Linked DNA regions of Homo sapiens: all the other regions are linked to region 2. The links are contacts of gene promoters, found by promoter capture Hi-C in blood cells and fetal thymus (Javierre and others, 2016). All regions are on one chromosome and are shown on one strand. The core of a region is centred on a gene start or on the middle of the fragment in contact, and the rest is flanking DNA. Distances in the headings are between cores, read along the strand shown.

The links. Contacts are between HindIII fragments. The CHiCAGO score rates a contact against its expected background, and 5 or more counts as called.
Region 1: a contact is called between a fragment that was not itself captured here and the fragment with the promoter of TYRO3 in region 2, in 1 of 17 cell types (M1 macrophages). The highest score is 5.1, in M1 macrophages.
Region 3: a contact is called between a fragment that was not itself captured here and the fragment with the promoter of TYRO3 in region 2, in 2 of 17 cell types (endothelial precursors and M1 macrophages). The highest score is 5.9, in endothelial precursors.
Region 4: a contact is called between a fragment that was not itself captured here and the fragment with the promoter of TYRO3 in region 2, in 2 of 17 cell types (M2 macrophages and M1 macrophages). The highest score is 6.0, in M2 macrophages.

What each region holds. Positions count from the first base shown.
Region 1 is chr15:41,778,049-41,782,707 of GRCh38, forward strand. The region is part of intron 2 of MAPKBP1 (mitogen-activated protein kinase binding protein 1); the gene reads left to right. Among named protein-coding and RNA genes, the nearest start is that of MAPKBP1, 5.9 kb to the left of the region's middle. The HindIII fragment of the contact is 1,930 bases long and covers 466-2,395 here.
Region 2 is chr15:41,557,584-41,561,940 of GRCh38, forward strand. It overlaps TYRO3 (TYRO3 protein tyrosine kinase), which reads left to right and starts at 1,629. Exons shown (of 19, transcript NM_006293.4): 1 at 1,629-1,798; 2 at 3,544-3,727; 3 at 3,956-4,056. The coding sequence starts at 1,675. It also overlaps the pseudogene ELOCP2. RefSeq lists enhancers at 1,048-1,549, 2,116-2,757 and silencers at 1,278-1,367, 1,313-1,479, 1,418-1,557, 1,568-1,737, 2,044-2,244. The HindIII fragment of the contact is 16,850 bases long and covers 1-4,307 here.
Region 3 is chr15:41,748,658-41,753,369 of GRCh38, forward strand. MGA (MAX dimerization protein MGA) reads left to right here. Exons shown (of 24, transcript NM_001400225.1): 16 at 1-270; 17 at 454-1,958. Among named protein-coding and RNA genes, the nearest start is that of MAPKBP1, 23 kb to the right of the region's middle. The HindIII fragment of the contact is 1,341 bases long and covers 681-2,021 here.
Region 4 is chr15:41,696,339-41,700,955 of GRCh38, forward strand. MGA (MAX dimerization protein MGA) reads left to right here. Exons shown (of 24, transcript NM_001400225.1): 3 at 1-685; 4 at 2,525-2,603; 5 at 2,726-2,821. Among named protein-coding and RNA genes, the nearest start is that of MIR626, 7.1 kb to the left of the region's middle. The HindIII fragment of the contact is 5,283 bases long and covers 1-4,617 here.

The DNA of each region.
Region 1 (4,659 bases), core at 181-2,680, 220 kb after region 2:
CCTTGAAACCAATATCTTATTGTTATTTTATGTATGTCTTCATTTCCTAAGGATCGGGGTCATGCTCTTTATTTCCTTTACATCACACCGTTTAGGACAGTGTAAGATAGGCAGTAAGTACTAAAAAAAATAAATGAGACTAATTTAAAGATGTCAAATATAGTGCGGGATAAACTTGGACATCCAGGTGAATAAAATAATCAGGAGGAATTTATGACCTCTTTAGAAGAGAGATCAAAACTACGATTAATAAAATGGTGACAAAGAAGTAGAGATGCAGCCTAATTAGGTGTGAAGAACATAAGAGAGAAGAAGTCCACGTATGCAGAAAGCAGTGCTCAGTAAAGGGTTCTTAATTCAGGGGAGACCTAGTTAAAAATATGGCTAAAAGCTGGTGTGAGAGAGCCAGTGGAGGTGGAGATTTAAGTTACATCAAAGAGTAGATGAGTGCTGAGATTTTTATTAAGCTTTTTCAGAGGGAGGGGAGTCTCTTCAGTGGAGTACATTGGAAAAGACTGATTTAAAGTTTTATGCTAAATCAGCTTAGTCTTGGTGAAGTGTGACTTGAAGTTATCAGTAAATACCCAAGTTCAAATCCTGTAGACTTGTCATTTCCTGCCTCTCATCTCTAAGTTGGGCTGTGTTTTCCTTAAGAAGCAAATGTATGTGTTCTTGATAGCTAACCCTCCTCCTCTGAAAGTTTCTGAAAGATTTTTATGTGGAGGGAGCTGGGCTTGTTTTCAAGGACAAAGGATAGAAATGGACCAAAGCCCAGCAGGCAAGATTTAAGTTAGGGTTACAAAAGGATTGTCTGTGCTGGAGGGTTGCTAGATTTTTAAAAAGTAACTGAAGGAGGTATTGAGATCGTCCTCCTCCTTAAGAGCCATTAATCTGATCTAGGTTATATTATTCCTTCTGGAAACAATGGGTAAGATGACTTTCTTCTAGTTGTGTTTTTTTAATTGTAAATCTAATTCTTCTTTCTCTATTTGTTTCCCCAAGTTTTTTTCCTGTATAGTTGTGTGGTGGTACTTCGAGCCTTTTGAGAAGTGACTCTAAGAAGAGTTTGGTTGGGTGGGTTTCATGAAGGAGAAAAAGTGGCAATACTCTAATTTCAGCTTTTGCTCAGTGTTTGAACGCATATATGATTTGGTATTGGGGAAACATACTCATTTTTTTCGAGACGGAGTCTTGCTCTGTTGCCCAGGCTGGAGTACAGTGGCGTGATCTCGGCTCACTGCAAACTCTGCCTCCCGGGTTCAAGCGATTCTCCTGCCTCAGCCTCCTGAGTAGCTGGGATTACAGGCGCGTGCCACCACGCCGGGCTAATTTTTTTATTTTTAGTAGAAACGGTGTTTCACCATGTTGGTCAGGCTGGTCTCAAACTCCTGACCTCGTGATCTGCCTGCCTCAGCCTCCCAAAGTGCTGGGATTACAGGTATGAGCCACCACGCCCGGCCAGTTATTTTTGTTTTTTGTAGAGACAGAGTCTTACGATGTTGCTCAGGCTGGTCTCAAACTTCTGGCCTCAAGGGCTCCTCCTGCCACAGCCTCCCAAAGTGCTGGGATTACAGGCATGAGCCACCATGCCCAGCCCCTGCCTTTCTGAGTAGCTGGGACTAGTGGTGCTTGCCTCTGCGCCAGGCTCCAGTCATTTCTTAGTGTTCAATACACACGCTCTGAGTTCTCCACATAGAATAGATGACTAAGAGTGGATGTCCCTGTGGCCAGCAGCTATGCCCCTCACCAGCCTTTGTGAATGACCTTCAAAGCTCTTGTTGAATTTTCTGTCTCTGAGGTCTCTTGAAATAAGGCTTGTGAAGTGTCTTGAGATCCTCACAACAGGTGGTATACAATGAAAAATGTCAATGTTCTCCTAGTTTTGTTTCTTTGATCACCATTTCATCCCTCCTTCCGGTGCCTGCAGCTGCCCTCAGCCTTCAAAGTGATTCTCACTGGAGAGAGAGGATGCTTCTCTCCCTGGACCCAACACCTCTTCATTTACTGTCTAAAAATAGCCCAGCCTCTTCAGGCTGGGAGTTGTCTTTCGAAACCTCCTCTCACCTACTTGGCCTCACTCATTTCAAAGTGGAAGAGCACTACTGCTTTCCAAGTTTTTCTCTCTTTCAGTTTGCAATTTAGGGCAGGTTCCCTTCTTGGATTTGAGTCAATGTCTTATTTCCTGCTGGTATTTTGAATGTCTTTCATTTGTCACCTGTGTATTTTCATTTCTTGACTGATGAAAAAACAGGTAGAAATGAGGCTTCAGCCTGACATCTGTAACCTCCCCACCAACCCTCTGAGTCTGAAGTTGGGCTTGATGCTGTTATCACTGACCCTTTGTTTGGAGAAAACAGTCCAAGGTTTGAAATTGGGGCTATGTTTATTCAAACTAAGCTTCTCTGAGCACATGGTCTGTCCCACTCATCCTCAGAGTATCCGTTGGTTTTACTTCATGTTCAGACTGCAGTGTTGTTAAAGAAATAAAGCTACAGTGTTTTCAGAAGGATTTGTTATATTATACTTCATGTTCCCACTGCTCCAGGCTAAGCGTCTCCTCTGGGCTCCATTGTTTAATGCAGGACAAAGCCAGGTTTTCTGGCAGCTTCCTTTTCATAGCAATTCTCAGTAGAGGTATAGAATGAGACCTGCCTACCTTCTTGGGTGTTTATTACCCCATTTGTGGATTTTACTTTAACTTCTGTTACCTTAAAAAAAAAAAAAAAAGTTGGTGAGGAAGGCAAGAAATAAAAGTGAGTATGACAGCCAGACTGGGTAGTGTGGATTTTTAGCGTTGGTATTTTTGAATGTCCAGATTTTCCAAATCCTTCCTTCCTTCCTTTCAACAGTTATAGCAACAGGTCCAGTGCTTCTTCATTGGTCACATTATTTTCCTCTGGTTTTGAAGGACACTTAACAGAAGAATGAGTTTACAGTATGGATAGCTCCTCCTAGATTTCAAGGGAGTAAATTCCCCCCTCTCATTTTGTCACAATGTTTGCAATGCTTTTTTTTTGCTTTTTTTTTTTTCCTTTTTTCTTTTTTGAGACAGAGTCTCACTCTGTCACCTAGGCTGAAGTGCAGTGGCGTGATCTCAGCTCACTGCAACCTCCACCTCCCGGGTTCAAGTGATTCTCTTGCCTCAGCCTCCCGAGTAGCTGGGATTACAGGCATGTGCCACCATGCCTGGCTACTTTTTGTTTTTTCAGTAGAGACAGGATTTCAACATGTTGGCCAGGCTGGTCTCGAACTCCTGACCTCAAGTGATCTGCCTGCCTCGGCCTCCAAAAGTGTGCAATGCTTTTTTTGGTTGCTTCCCTATTTGGTAAAACAATGCTGTGGGTTTTTTTGTTTTTTTTTTTTTCTTGCTGGGATTTTAAAGTTTATATGCCTTATCTCTCCTCCTAAAACTGTAATGAAGCTAAAGATATTTTCCTTTCCCTGCTATGCCGGGCATGGTGGTGCACACCTATAGCCCCAGCATCTTAGGAGGCTGAGGCGGGATGATTGCTCGAGCCCAGGAGTTTGAGGCTGCAGTGAGCTATGATGGCACCACTGTATTCCAGCCTGGGCAACAGAGTGAGACCCCATCTTAAAAACAAACAAAAACTGTCTGCCCCTCTGTTTATAATTGAGATTTTAATTTACTTGAAGATCTTAGAACAACCCTTTGTGAAACCATATGGCTGATTTTTTTTTTTCCACTTTGTCAAATGTTCTTTTGGAGAAATCCTGAGAAGAAAGTTTATTTGGTGGTTCAGGATTTGAGTGTTGCTCCTTATTTATCACAGTTCTCATCAGCCTTTGAGACCCATCTTCCTTTAGTGGCTCTTCTGGTCTTTTCTTCATAAGTTTGGCTGATGCTGTTACAGATGCTAGCACTTAAGAAAACAAGACTTTAAAAAATTATGAAATACAGGCCGGGCGCAGTGGCTCATGCCTGTAATCCTAGCATTTTGGGAGGCCGAGGCGGGCGGATCATGAGGTCAGGAGATCGAGACCATCCTGGCTAACACGGTGAAACCCTGTCTCTACTAAAAATACAAAAAAAAAAAAAAAAAAAATTAGCTGGGCGTGGTGGCGGGCGCCTGTAGGCCCAGCTACTCGCGAGGCTGAGGCAGGAGAATGGTGTGAACTCGGGATGCGGAGCTTGCAGTGAGCTGAGATCGCGCCACTGCCCTCCAGCCTGGGAGATAGCGAGGCTCTGTCTCAAAAAAAAAAAAAAAAAATTATGAAATACAACAGACATTAAGAGAGTGTACAAATATAATATTGTATTATAAATAATGATAAATGATTTCCCCGTGTAACCACTGCCCAAGTGAAAAAATAGAACAATGGTAAGGTATTGGCAGTTTCTGAGGGACGTGATGCGAATGTTGTCATCAGGGTGGGTGAGGATGTACTAGGCACTGTGCTAAGCATTTTACATATACTATCTTATTCAAGTTTTACAGAAGTCTACCATAAATACTATTACCACCCCATTTTGTAGTTAAGAAAACTAATGATAAGAGAGGTCAGGTGAGTAGCTGGTAGTTACATAGCCAGTGAGTGGCTAAGCAAGAATTCAAATAGAGGCTTTCTGAACTCCAGGGCCCACACTTAATCTTTATTCTGCATTCCTCCCAGGGAGCCTTCATGTGCACAGCATGGCAC
Region 2 (4,357 bases), core at 379-2,878:
AATCAAAGTTGAAATTTGTTTGCTACATCAACAAATTAAGAACATTTTCACAAACTGAGAAATAAACAAATATGCCAATTAAAAAAAAAAAAAGAAAGAAACAGAGACAGAGATATCTGGCCCCTGCCATCCATGTCTTGACAGTGCCTCATGAGTCTCTCCTCCTGCTGCCGCCTGGGGGCGCCCCCAGCTGGGTCTCAGGCTGCTGCCAGCACTGCTGTTGTTATCATTAGGGTAATTAATAAACAAGCACTGCTGGGGCCAAGTGGAAGAAGAGGCAGGCCCCTGCTGCTCAGGAGAATCCCTGAAAAGATCCAGTGAGCCTGCGGCAACCGGAGCTGAGTGGCTGGTCCCTCCTCTCTACCCAGGACCTCTGGAAGGGGTGTGGGGTGGGCTTCCCCCTGGAGGGAAGGGCAAGGGGAGGAGCACACTTGGTAGGCTTGGTTTGGAACCAGCTCTGCATGTGCCTAACAGGATGTCTGTGGGCAAGGCCACCCTCGTGATTACTGGTTGTGGGGCAGGCTCTGAAGCAATTATTCATTCATTTAACAGGCATCTGCCTATTTATTTATGGAAAGCCTACTGTGTGCAAGGTGGTCTACTAATAATAGCTAATGTTTGACTGGACAGTGTGACGACACAGCCAACTTTCACACCAGGTCCTGGGAAAAGGGGTAGAAGCAGGGGAAGCAACCAGGAAAAATGACAGCCCAAAAAGATACGGGCAATTAGGCTTTGGCCTGTGTAGTGTAGTGGTGGGGATATATATTAGGTAAAACCTGGGGATTACCAAGATCTTGGGAAACTCAGGACCCAAGTTGGAAAACATACGGCAATTGGGGCTGGAGAAAATGGGCATTTTTCAGGTGGGAGGGACTTGGAGATAAAGGCATGGCAATAGGACATGAATATGGGGATTTTGGGTGAATGGCTCAATGAAAGGGAGGCACGAAGGGATGCTAGCCGATCCTGTTGGGGGAGCCCCGGGTCACGGCAGTTTCGGGGAGCCAGATGGATGGGAGTGTCTAGGGGTTGAGGTGCTCTAAGTCCTGAGAGGGGGATGCTGGATTCTGGGATCAGAGTCCGAACAAGAGTTGGGGTGTGGTGGGGGCTGACAGCGGGGTTTTGAGGGAAGGCTCTGGAGGGCTGGGTTAGAAAAGATGCCGGAGCGGGTTTAGGGAAAGGAGGGGCGTGGCCGGGGAGCCCATCCTGGAGGCCAAGCCGGATCCTCAGGTTTGGCCAGGGGGCGGCTGGGGCCGGCGTGCCGGCGGGGCGCCGGCGGGGCCGCGGGGGTTTGCGGCGCTGGCTGGGATTCGCGCTCCGAGCCAGTCGCCGGGGCTCCGCGGGGGGGCGGTGCGAGCTCGGGCTGCGGGCGGGCCGGGAGGAGGCGGCGGCTCCGAGAAGAACATGAATCAGCGGCGGCGACGGCGGCGACGGCAGTGGAAGGAGCGCGGTGGCGCGGGAGCGGCCCCGGGGACCCCGCGCTGCTGACGGCGGCGACCGCGGCCGGAGGCGGGCGCGGGTCTCGGAGGCGGTCGCCTCAGCACCGCCCCACGGGCGGCCCCAGCCCCTCCCGCAGCCCTCCTCCCTCCCGCTCCCTTCCCGCCGCCTCCTCCCCGCCCTCCTCCCTCCTCGCTCGCGGGCCGGGCCCGGCATGGTGCGGCGTCGCCGCCGATGGCGCTGAGGCGGAGCATGGGGCGGCCGGGGCTCCCGCCGCTGCCGCTGCCGCCGCCACCGCGGCTCGGGCTGCTGCTGGCGGCTCTGGCTTCTCTGCTGCTCCCGGAGTCCGCCGCCGCAGGTAGGGGCTGGCACGGGAGGCGGCGGGAAGCGGGGGGCTGCGGAGGGGCGCGGCCGGGGGTCGGAGCCCGGGGCGGGCCTGGCGGGCTGGAGTCGGGGTGGGGGTCCGGAGCCGAAGGCCGAGGCTCGGAGCCGGGACAGGGCACGCTGCGGAGTGCTCGCCGCCAGATCTCCGGCCGGGCCCCCACCCCCAACTTTCTGGCGCTCGGGGCTCTTCTGGCGGGGTGGAAGAGAAGGGAGCGGGGTGTGGGCTGTGTGGTCAGCGGGGAGTGTTTGGGACTGCATTTTCCCGCCTCGATGTTCCCAGCTGTTAGCTCCCTCCTTCCCAGTACTGGGGACCCCATTCTGCCTGCCCCGCACGCGAAGGTCCGCCTCGGAAACCACACGGGCCGGGGCTGGGCACCCAAAGGCCACCCTGATACCATTTAGGTACACAGGGGCTGTGAGGGTGCCCAGTCACAAAAAACAAATGGGCACACTCGAGTTCCTGTGCCCTCAGAGCTTCCTGAAAGCAGAACCTTGGAGAGGATGGGCTGGTGCCAGGTTGCTGGTCTTTGGGAGGGGTTAGTCTTGTGTTCCCACATAGCCACTGAGGCATTTGCTGGTGACAAGAGCGTTCCATGCAGCACGGTGCTCTCCAAGTTCCCACCCCGCACCTCGGGGACTGATGGGCATATAGGGAGCGGGAGGCTGGCCCCCATCCTGTGACTGGTCCTGAGAGGGTGAAGGGAGCAGGGAAGAGCCACAGGCCAGGACAGCGGCCACCCGCTGGCATCTTCTCTTGAGACAGCATTCCTTGCCATATCAGCCTCTCAGGGAAGGGAAGGGAAACGGGGTGACGAGTATTTACAAGCCGAAAGGTGCGGACCTGATGCTCAGGGAGCCCACGACTTTGCCTAGAGTCACACAGCAAAGGGTGAGAAGAAGCAGGGCTGGATTTCAGTTATGTGGATACTTGACCTGCCCCTCTCTCTGCTTAAAAACATGCCAGGAGGCCAGGAGAGGTGCGTGTATGTGTGTGTGTGTGTGTGTGTGTGTGTGTGTGTGTGCGCGCGCGCGCGCGCGCTCGCACGCAAGTTCCAAAGAGTGGCCCCTGTTAATGTGGCAGTGGCTCAGGGGTCTTAGGCTCCCTGCTCAGGGCCCCAGCCCTCCCTTCTGCCTCCCACCTTCCTAGCACTCGCCCCTGCCCACATTCAGGTATTAATAGAGTGGATGGCTGCCAGGAAGGCTGCCATGTGTTTGATCTGACGTGGTTTTGCAGCCATATGTTCTCCACTTCAGGGGAGCACCCCCTCCTTTCCTTCTTCAGCCCTGCTCCATTTGGTAAGGTTGGGTGCAGAGGGTGCTGGCAGCAATTCAGGGTCTGGGCTGACACCTTGGGTGGAGAGCTGGCAGCCTGTTGCACTAGTTGGGTGCAGCAGTCATTCCTAGAGCAGTGCCTGCCCCAGTAGGGTAACTCCCATCGTTTCAGCCCAGCCTGCCTTCCTTTTGCTGTCTGGGCTCAGAAGGAGGACATGGGGAAGAGGTCCTTAGAGCCGGAGGGAACTTGGAGAGCTTGCCATGCCCCTTCCCTTCGCCCAGGTCCAGCGACCTTCCCTTCCACACTGTCCTACCTCTGCTTCCTTGACTTTGGCTGAGAAAGAGCCCTCTGTCTGACACAGAAGCTACCTTCTAGAAGAGAATGGGAACTGTTTACAGAGACAGAGTCCCTCTCAAGGCTGACACATGTTCCTTCCCACCCCTCAGGTCTGAAGCTCATGGGAGCCCCGGTGAAGCTGACAGTGTCTCAGGGGCAGCCGGTGAAGCTCAACTGCAGTGTGGAGGGGATGGAGGAGCCTGACATCCAGTGGGTGAAGGATGGGGCTGTGGTCCAGAACTTGGACCAGTTGTACATCCCAGTCAGCGAGCAGCACTGGATCGGCTTCCTCAGGTGCAGGCCTGTGGGGGAAGGTGTGGGCTGCCAGCCAGGGGGCAGGCTATGCTCTTTCCTTGGGGATTGGGAGCTGGGGCCCTCTCCTGATGCCCAGAGGTCTGTGGTTTTTTTATTTGGCTACCTGTGGGACCTTCCAGAAGTGGGGGCAGGCTGAACTCATCAAGTTTGCCCAGCAGAGCTGCCGCCCTTGCCCTCGGAAGCAAGCCTCGTATCCTGTTTCCACAGCCTGAAGTCAGTGGAGCGCTCTGACGCCGGCCGGTACTGGTGCCAGGTGGAGGATGGGGGTGAAACCGAGATCTCCCAGCCAGTGTGGCTCACGGTAGAAGGTGAGGAGGCAGAGCCATATGGGCGTGTTGGCCTGGAGCACGTGCTGTCTGCTGGTGACTATACCTCTGCAGCGGAGAACTCAGTAGAAGCTGGGCTGCCCCACTGCTCTGTGGGGCCTGGTTGTCCAGGCTGTAGGCCCACTCCAGATGTCGGAAGACCCTACCAGTTGGAGTTGGGTATCTGAGAACCAAGGGACCAACTGGGATCCACAACCTGTGGGGTGCAGTCTGTTTCCGTTGCTTGAGCAACAAGCTTCAAGCATCCATCTGGGACTGGACCCTGTTCTGCCAAGTGGCCTGG
Region 3 (4,712 bases), core at 101-2,600, 190 kb after region 2:
TGGCTACTCCACAGGTCTCTCCTAACACAGTGAAACGTGCTGGACCTCGATTGTTGTTGATTCCAGTGCAGCAGGGTTCTCCTACTCTTAGACCTGTCTCAAACACACAACTTCAGGGACATCGGATGGTCTTGCAGCCTGTTAGGAGTCCAAGTGGAATGAACTTATTCAGGCACCCTAATGGGCAGATTGTCCAGCTTCTACCTTTGCATCAGCTTCGAGGCTCTAATACCCAGCCCAACTTACAGCCTGTCATGTTTCGGAACCCAGGTATAAAGTTCTTTTTTATGAACTTTTCTTTTGTTGAATCACTTGGCCATATGGTATGTTAATACACCAAGATTGTTTTTCTTCATCTCTTAAGAGTTACTTTTCCAAAAAGAAAAGCAAACATTGGAAGTCTTGATATGGGCAGTCATGATTTAAAAATTTCTCTCTTATTTTTTAAACCAGGGTCTGTGATGGGAATCCGGTTACCTGCTCCTTCCAAACCCTCTGAGACTCCGCCATCTTCCACTTCGTCCTCTGCTTTCTCTGTCATGAATCCTGTAATTCAAGCTGTTGGGTCTTCTTCAGCAGTGAATGTTATCACTCAGGCACCATCATTGCTTTCCTCTGGAGCTAGTTTTGTGTCTCAGGCTGGTACATTGACCCTGAGGATTTCTCCTCCTGAACCACAAAGCTTTGCAAGTAAAACAGGCTCTGAAACCAAAATAACTTATAGCTCAGGAGGACAGCCTGTTGGTACAGCCAGTCTTATTCCTCTCCAGTCTGGTAGTTTTGCCTTGTTACAGCTCCCAGGACAAAAGCCTGTTCCTAGCTCCATTCTTCAGCATGTTGCTTCCCTTCAGATGAAGAGAGAATCTCAGAATCCAGACCAGAAAGATGAAACAAACTCAATAAAAAGAGAGCAAGAAACGAAGAAGGTTCTACAGTCAGAAGGAGAGGCTGTAGACCCTGAGGCTAATGTAATAAAACAAAACTCAGGAGCTGCTACCTCAGAAGAAACTCTGAATGATTCCTTGGAAGATAGGGGTGATCATTTGGATGAAGAATGCCTTCCAGAAGAAGGTTGTGCAACTGTCAAACCATCTGAGCATTCCTGTATCACTGGGTCACATACAGATCAAGATTATAAAGATGTTAATGAAGAATATGGGGCTAGGAATCGTAAGAGTTCCAAAGAAAAAGTGGCTGTTCTGGAAGTTAGGACCATTTCTGAAAAAGCCAGTAATAAGACAGTCCAAAATTTAAGTAAAGTACAGCATCAAAAACTTGGTGATGTGAAGGTGGAACAGCAGAAAGGATTTGACAATCCAGAAGAAAACTCAAGTGAATTTCCAGTCACCTTTAAGGAAGAAAGTAAATTTGAATTGTCAGGAAGCAAAGTTATGGAGCAGCAATCTAATCTACAGCCAGAGGCCAAAGAGAAGGAATGTGGAGACTCTCTGGAGAAAGACAGGGAAAGATGGAGAAAACATCTGAAGGGCCCCTTAACCAGGAAATGTGTTGGAGCTTCACAGGAATGTAAGAAAGAGGCAGACGAGCAGTTAATTAAAGAAACAAAGACATGTCAGGAAAATTCAGATGTGTTTCAGCAAGAACAAGGCATCTCTGACTTACTTGGAAAAAGTGGAATTACTGAAGATGCCAGAGTTTTGAAAACTGAATGTGATTCTTGGAGTAGGATTTCTAATCCTTCAGCCTTCTCCATTGTTCCTAGGAGAGCTGCAAAAAGCAGCAGAGGGAATGGACATTTTCAGGGTCACTTACTGCTACCTGGAGAACAGATACAACCAAAGCAAGAGAAGAAGGGTGGGAGAAGCAGTGCTGACTTCACTGTTTTGGATTTGGAAGAAGATGATGAAGATGATAATGAGAAAACTGATGATTCTATTGATGAAATTGTGGATGTTGTTTCTGACTACCAGAGTGAGGAGGTTGATGATGTAGAAAAGGTGGTGAGCCCATTTTTGTTGTGACTGAAACCTAAAGGATTTAAATGATTTATTAAAGACAGAAGCTTTTTCAGAAGAGCACTAAGGCATAATACATTTAATTGGATGCCTAGGTTTAAGATTATGACTTAAATGGCTTAGTAGTTCTTTAGGCTGTGTCAATCAAGCATCATTTATTGAGCTTTTATTCTTTGAGACTTGTCTGGTTTTATGGGAAGGCTGGCTTAAATATTTGGGGGATAGGTGCTTGAGAGTCCCTACCGAGTTAGATTTTTAAAATCCCGAAACCACTACTCCCATTTGACCTCAGTCAATTTCTATGACGTTTTCTATGTGAGGTGGTTGTAGCTTCTCTGGTAGATGTTAATCAGAAACTGGGAATGGGTGACCTTAGAACTAGAGGAGAACTTATTCACTTGCATATAGAGAGATGTTTTTGTTTTTGGAGAAAAACTGGAAAATACCATCATATTCTAGTACCATTTTGCCTTGAGTTGCTTTTATATCCAAAAATTAAATATTTAGTCTCTGGAATTTATATTCTAGACTTTGGTCTTCGTCCTTTGTAATATGACCTTTATGGCCTATTTTTATTATTTTCCTGAAGTTTTTTTTATAGGATTCCTATTTAGGGTTGTTGTATTTACTTAAATAAGTAACTGTCAGGTATTGATACAGTGCAGGAGTTGTACAAACGTTTTCTGTAAAAGGCCAGATAGTAAATAGTTTTAGACTTTGCAGAGAGCTAGATGGCTCTCTGTTGCGACTAATTGACTGCTGTTGTAGTATAAAAGCAGCTGTATTCCATTAAAACTTTAGTAAAAAAGTCCAGGTGCGGTGGCTCACACCCATAATCCCAGCACTTTGGGAGGCCGAGGTGGGTGGATCACCTGACGTCAGGAGTTTGAGACTAGTCTGGCCAACATGACAAAACCCCGTGTCTACTAAAAATACAAAAAATTAGCCAGGTGTGGTGATGGGTGCCTGTAATCCCAGTACTCAGAACGCTGAGGCAGGAGAATCGCTTGAACCCGGGAGGCTGAGGTTGCAGTGAGCCCAGATCGCGCCATTGCACTCCAGCCTGGGCGACAAGAACAAAACTCTGTCTCGGGTTAAAAAAAAAAAAGAAGTTGTTAGTGGGCTGTGGTTTGCTGACCCCTGACATAAGGTCTGATGTAAAACATGGGGAGATCATAACCAGCTGCCTGTGGAGTGCCCTAAAATCTAAACTGTGTCCTTCTTTTCAGGAGCAGATGACAGCCGTCTGCACTGATTGTCATACAACTGCTTGTTTTACAATCTCACTTCCTTGAGATTCATTCTGCCTCTGTGTTATCTGGTCCTTTTCTGTTATTGCTTAACTGCTTTATGCACATAAAATAAGACAAAAAGATTACTGTTTTAAAAATCTAAAATGTTGAAATATTTTATTTTAGCGATGGAGTCTTACTCTGTCGCCCAGGCTGGAGTGCAGTGGTGCGAACTCAGCTCACTGCAACCTCCACCTCTGGGGCTCAAGCAATTCTCCTGCTTCAGCCTCCTGAGTAGCTGAGATTACAGGAGCCTGCCACCGCCCCAGCTAATTTTTGTATTTACGTAGAGATGGGGTTTCACCATCTTGGCCAGGCTGGTCTTAATGTTCTTATATTGGTTATTTGAGTACCTCCATTGTCTCATTTATAAAGGAGGATCTTGCTCTAAAATTGGATGATTCTGTATTCATTTGACTTATACCTTCTCTCCATAGCCTAATCTTTTTCAAGAATGGATGTAAATTCATTGACTTTAGGAGTTATATTGCTGATTTTTTTGTGTTTTTTGCAGTCTCACACTGTAAGTCAGCCCAAGTTAACATGAGACCAAAAAACAGTTCAACTTTAAAACCAGTGAAAACTATTACTATTAGTGGAACTTACATAATAGAACCTTTAAAGTTTTTTTTTTTTTTTTTTTTTTTTTAACAGAGTCTCGCTTTGTCGCCCAGGCTGGAGTGCAGTGGTGCCATCTCGGCTCACTGCATCCTCTGCCTTCTCGGTTCAAGCGATTCTTCTGCCTCAGCCTCCCGAGTAGCTTGGGATTACAGGTGGGCACCACCATGCCCAGCTAATTTTTGTATTTTTTTAGTAAAGACAGGGTTTCACCATATTGGCCAGGCTGGTCTTGAACTCCTGACCTCAGGTGATCCACCCACGTTGGCCTCCCAAAAGTGCTGGGATTACAGGCATGAGCAACTGCCTCCGGCCTGAAGTATCTTAATCATACAAGGAGGCATTGCTTGAATGTACTAATAGGGAATTTGACAAGCAAACAAGTTATACTGACTTTTTTTTTAAAGGTCATATTAAGTGATCTCTAAAATCTAAAGTCTACACTGTTTTTATTTGCACATCTCACACCTACGTTACCTTTATGATTAGCATTGGAATACTGTGAGGGAAGTTGTAAATAGCTTCTTTAATTTAAATCTTCCTTGTGGAAGTTATTGGAATATTATTTAGAAATACTGCAGTTATGCCAGGCGCTGTAGCTCTCGCCTGTAATTCCAACACTTTGGGAGGCTGAGGCAGGCGGATCACCTGAGGTCAGGAGTTTGAGACCAGCCTGGCCAACATGGTGAAACCCCATCTCTACTAACAATACACAAATTAGCCAGGTGTGGTGGCACAGTCCTAGAGTCCCAACTACTCGGGAGGCTGAAGCAGGAGAATCGTTTGAATCCCGGGAGGTGGGCTCATTTACTATGTTTCTGGCATA
Region 4 (4,617 bases), core at 1,189-3,688, 140 kb after region 2:
TAAATGGCTTCCAAGCAGCCCATCAGGTGTTGCTAAAGCTAAAATGTTCAAATTAGACACTGGAAAGATGCCAGTAGTCTATCTGGAGCCCTGTGCTGTCACCAGAAGCACAGTTAAGATTTCTGAACTCCCCGATAACATGCTTTCCACATCTCGAAAGGATAAATCTTCTATGTTGGCAGAATTGGAATATTTGCCTACATACATTGAAAATTCCAATGAGACTGCCTTCTGCTTAGGCAAGGAATCAGAAAATGGTCTTAGAAAACATTCACCAGATCTCAGAGTGGTACAAAAATATCCCTTACTGAAAGAGCCTCAGTGGAAATATCCTGATATATCTGACAGCATTAGCACAGAAAGAATACTCGACGATTCAAAGGATTCAGTTGGAGACTCACTTTCAGGAAAAGAGGACTTGGGCAGAAAGAGAACAACTATGCTTAAGATTGCAACAGCCGCAAAGGTAGTGAATGCTAATCAGAATGCCTCTCCAAATGTCCCTGGAAAAAGAGGAAGGCCACGAAAATTGAAACTCTGTAAGGCAGGACGACCACCTAAGAACACAGGAAAGTCTTTAATTTCTACAAAGAATACACCTGTAAGCCCTGGGAGTACCTTTCCAGATGTGAAGCCTGATCTGGAAGATGTGGATGGTGTTCTCTTTGTTTCCTTTGAATCAAAGGTAAGATTGTAATTTTCAGGATTCTTTAAGGCTAATTAGTCATACTTGAATTGTATACTGGCTTGTAAGTAACTCGATTTACAATCTAGTTTTGTGATATCTATTTGTGAGGGTGTATGGGGGGTGGAGTTGGGAGGGAAGTGTCTCCAAAATGTTTGGTTTAGTTAATAGGAATAACTTAAGATACTTCATTTGAATAGACTTAAAAAAGTATGTCTTGCTTAGATTTCAGTTTACGATTTTTGCATAGCTGTGTTTAAAAAAAGTCTTCGGGTCTTACTGGAATTTTCATCATTATGGATTTTGGAAAGGACTAAAAATACATGAAATATTTACTAACTCTTTGGTGACGCTCCATTTCTTTTACCTCCTGGTTTTCTTTTATTTTTCTTTTCTTTTTTTTTTTTTTTTGAGACAGAGTCTTGCTCTGTTGCCCAGGCTGGAGTTCAGTGGCACGATCTCAGCTCACTGCAATCTCCGTCTCCCGAGTTCAAGCCATTCTCGTGCCCCAGCCTCACGAGTAGCTGGGATTACAGGCGTGTGCCACCACACCCAGCTAATTTTTGTAATTTTGGTAGAGACGGGGTTTTGCAATGTTGGCCAGCTAATTTCTAACTTCTGGCCTCCAGCAGTCTGCCTGCTTCAGCCTCCCAAAGTGCTGGGATTACATGCATGAGCCACCGCTCCTGGCCCTGGTTTTCAGTAGTAGTAGTAGAGTACCATTGGAGAACCAAATATTAACAGTCATCTTAACTCTCCTGTCTTACACATTGAAGTCTCTGTTTATTCCACTCTGACTCTTCAACCAGATTATTTTTCTTGGAAATTTTTATAGAAGCCCAGTCTTTTTTTATTTATTTTTTGAGATGGAGTCTCGGTCTGTGGCTCATGCTGGAGTGCAGTAGCGCAATCTTGGCTCACTGCAAACTCCGCCTCCTGTGTTCTTGCCATTCCCCTGCCTCAGACTCCCGAGTAGCTGGGACTACAGGTGCTCGCCACCATGCCCGGCTAATTTTTTTTGTATTTTTAGTAGAGACGGGGTTTCACCATATTAGCCAGGATGGTCTCGATCTCCTGGCCTCGTGATCCTCCTGCCTCAGCCTCCCAAAGTGCTGGAATTACAAGCGTGAGCCACTGCCCCTGGCCTCTTTTTTTTTTTTTTTTTGAGACGGAATCTTGCTCTGTCACCAGCTGGAGTGCAGTGGCACAATCTTGGCTCACTGCAACCTCTGTTTCCCGGGTTCAAGCAGTTCCCCTGCCTCAGCCTCCCGAGTAGCTGGGACTACAGGTGTGCATCACCATGCCCAGCTATTTTTTTTATTTTAGTAGAGACAGGGTTTCACCATGTGGCCAGGATGGTCTCAATCTCCTGACCTTGTGATCCACCTGCCTCGGCCTCCCAAAGTGCTGGGATTATAGGCGTGAGCCACTGTGCCAGGCTGTCTTTCTTAATTGACTACACAGATGTTGGATATTTAATCCCTTCTACCTGTTCTTTTCCTCCCTTCTTGTTAGCTGAGTAAGCTATCTGAATATAGGCTCTGAGAAGTGAACATGCAAATTGGCGTATACTTTGAGGTCAGTTAGCTCAGTATGACATCGTATTCACATTTTTTTACTTCCCCCTTTTCCCCTTCTGATTATTAAAGTAATATTAATGTAGAACACTTAGAAAATATCAAAAAGTATGAAAAAATTGCTCCTGTTCTGCCAATGTTAGCGTAACTGTAGGCATGGAGATATTTTCCTTCTGGTCTTTAAGTTTTTTTTAATCCTGTTTTACATTTAAGTTTTCAGAAGCAATATGAACTACTATTTTTTTTTTTTTTTGATGTATAGGAAGCTCTAGACATTCATGCAGTTGATGGGACAACAGAAGAATCTTCTAGTCTCCAGGCATCAACCACAAATGACTCAGGTATTATAAAATAGTATAAAAAGAGTTGTATTTGTGGTTTGGGCTCCAGCAATGAAACATGCAACATTCATTTGTCTGTAGTGTACAGTAGCTTATTTTATTACTATTTATTTTGGGTGTAGGTTACAGAGCAAGAATTTCCCAGTTGGAAAAGGAATTGATAGAAGATTTGAAGACTTTGCGGCACAAGCAGGTGATACATCCTGGTCTTCAAGAAGGTAATAGACTAGCGACTTCTTTTTTTTTGTTTTCTTTTTTTCTTTCTTCCCTACTGTTTCTCCTCTTTTTCCTCTCTCTTTCTCATCTCTTTTTTTCTGTTTTTTCCTCTTTCTTTCTAGCCTTGATTTCATTTCTTTCAGCACGTCTTTCAGTTTGCATATTTTTCTCTTCTCTGTCTCCATAATTCTTCCCTTTAGTTTAAAAACCATGTCTAATATCTTATGTAAGAAAAAAATGTATCATGGTAAAGCAAGTGATATTTTCTTTGTTCATTCTTATAACCTGGTATTCTCCCCTTCCCGTTTCTCATCTTAATTTGGTTGCTTTTGTTTATGTGTGTGTGTGTGTGTTTGTTTGAGACGGAGTTTCGCTCTGTCGCCCAGGCGGCTGGAGTGCAGTGGTGCAATCTCTGCTCACTGCAAGCTCCGCCTCCTGGGTTCATGCCATTCTCCTGCCTCAGCCTCCCAAGTAGCTGGGACCACAGGCGCCTGCCACCGCGCCTGGCTAATTTTTTTGTATTTTTAGTAGAGACGGTTTCACCGTGTTAGCCAGGATGGTCTTGATCTCCTGACCTTGTGATCCGCCCGCCTCGGCCTCCCAATTATGTGTTTGTTTTTATAATTTTGGAGGAAGGGTCTTCCTTGTCCTTTAGTAGTATATTTAGGTGTGTAAACAGTAGAATACTTTTCTGTCTCATGTTTTGGCTGCAAACATCTATTTTATATATTTGATGTACCACTGGGAAGTTAATTTAAAATTTTCATTATCTTTTTTTTTTAAAATTTTACTTTGAGTTCTGGGATACGTGTACAGAATGTGCAGGTTACATAGTTATACATGTGCTATGGTGGTTTCCTGTACCTATCAACCTGTCATCGAGGTTTTTTTTTTTTTTTTTTTTTTTGATGCGCAGTCTCGCTCTCGCCCAGGCTGGAGTGCAGTGGCACGATCTCAGCTCACTGCAAGCTCTGCCTCCTGGGTTCACACCACTCTCCTGCCTCAGCCTCCCAAGTAGCTGGGACTACAGGCGCCTGCTACCATGCCCGGCTAATTTTTTTTGTATTTTTAGTAGAGACGGGGTTTCACTGTGTTAACCAGGATGGTCTCGATCTCCTGACCTCATGATCTGCCCGCCTCGGCCTCCCAAAGTGCTGAGATTACAGGCGTGAGCCACCGCGCCCGGCCCTGTCATCTAGGTTTTAAGCCCTGCATGCATTAGGTGTTTGTCCTAATGCTCTCCCTCCCCACCAACAGGCTCTGGTGTGTGATGTTCCCCTCCTTGCATCCATGTGTTCTCATTGTTCATCTCCCACTTACGAGTGAAAACATGCAGTGTTTGGTTTTCTGTTCCTATGTTAGTTTGCTTAGAATAATGGCTTCCAGCTTCATCCATGTCCCTGCAAAGGGCATGAACTCATTCTTTTTTATGGCTGCAGTTTTCATTTTTATCTTTATTTTATTGTAATGCATTATCTTGACCTTGATTATGTTGCTTAATCTTTAAAAAAACATATCTACTATGGTTATTAACATCATGATCACTACCAATTTTCCTGTTTTGGGGTGTAATGAAAAATTTTAGGCTGTGCCCCAATTTTTAGTTTCTTACGACTATCTTTGATTTTAGATAGGCATCTTGGAGTAGTTTTTTGAATTTTTGACTCATTAATTTTCAGAAGGGTGTCTAGACTATTTACACTATAAGTAGTTCATTTACCTGAGAGTCTAAACATTATAAGTTATCAAACAAAAGATTTATATGCTGGTCATTCCGTTTCTAAATCAAATGGTAATA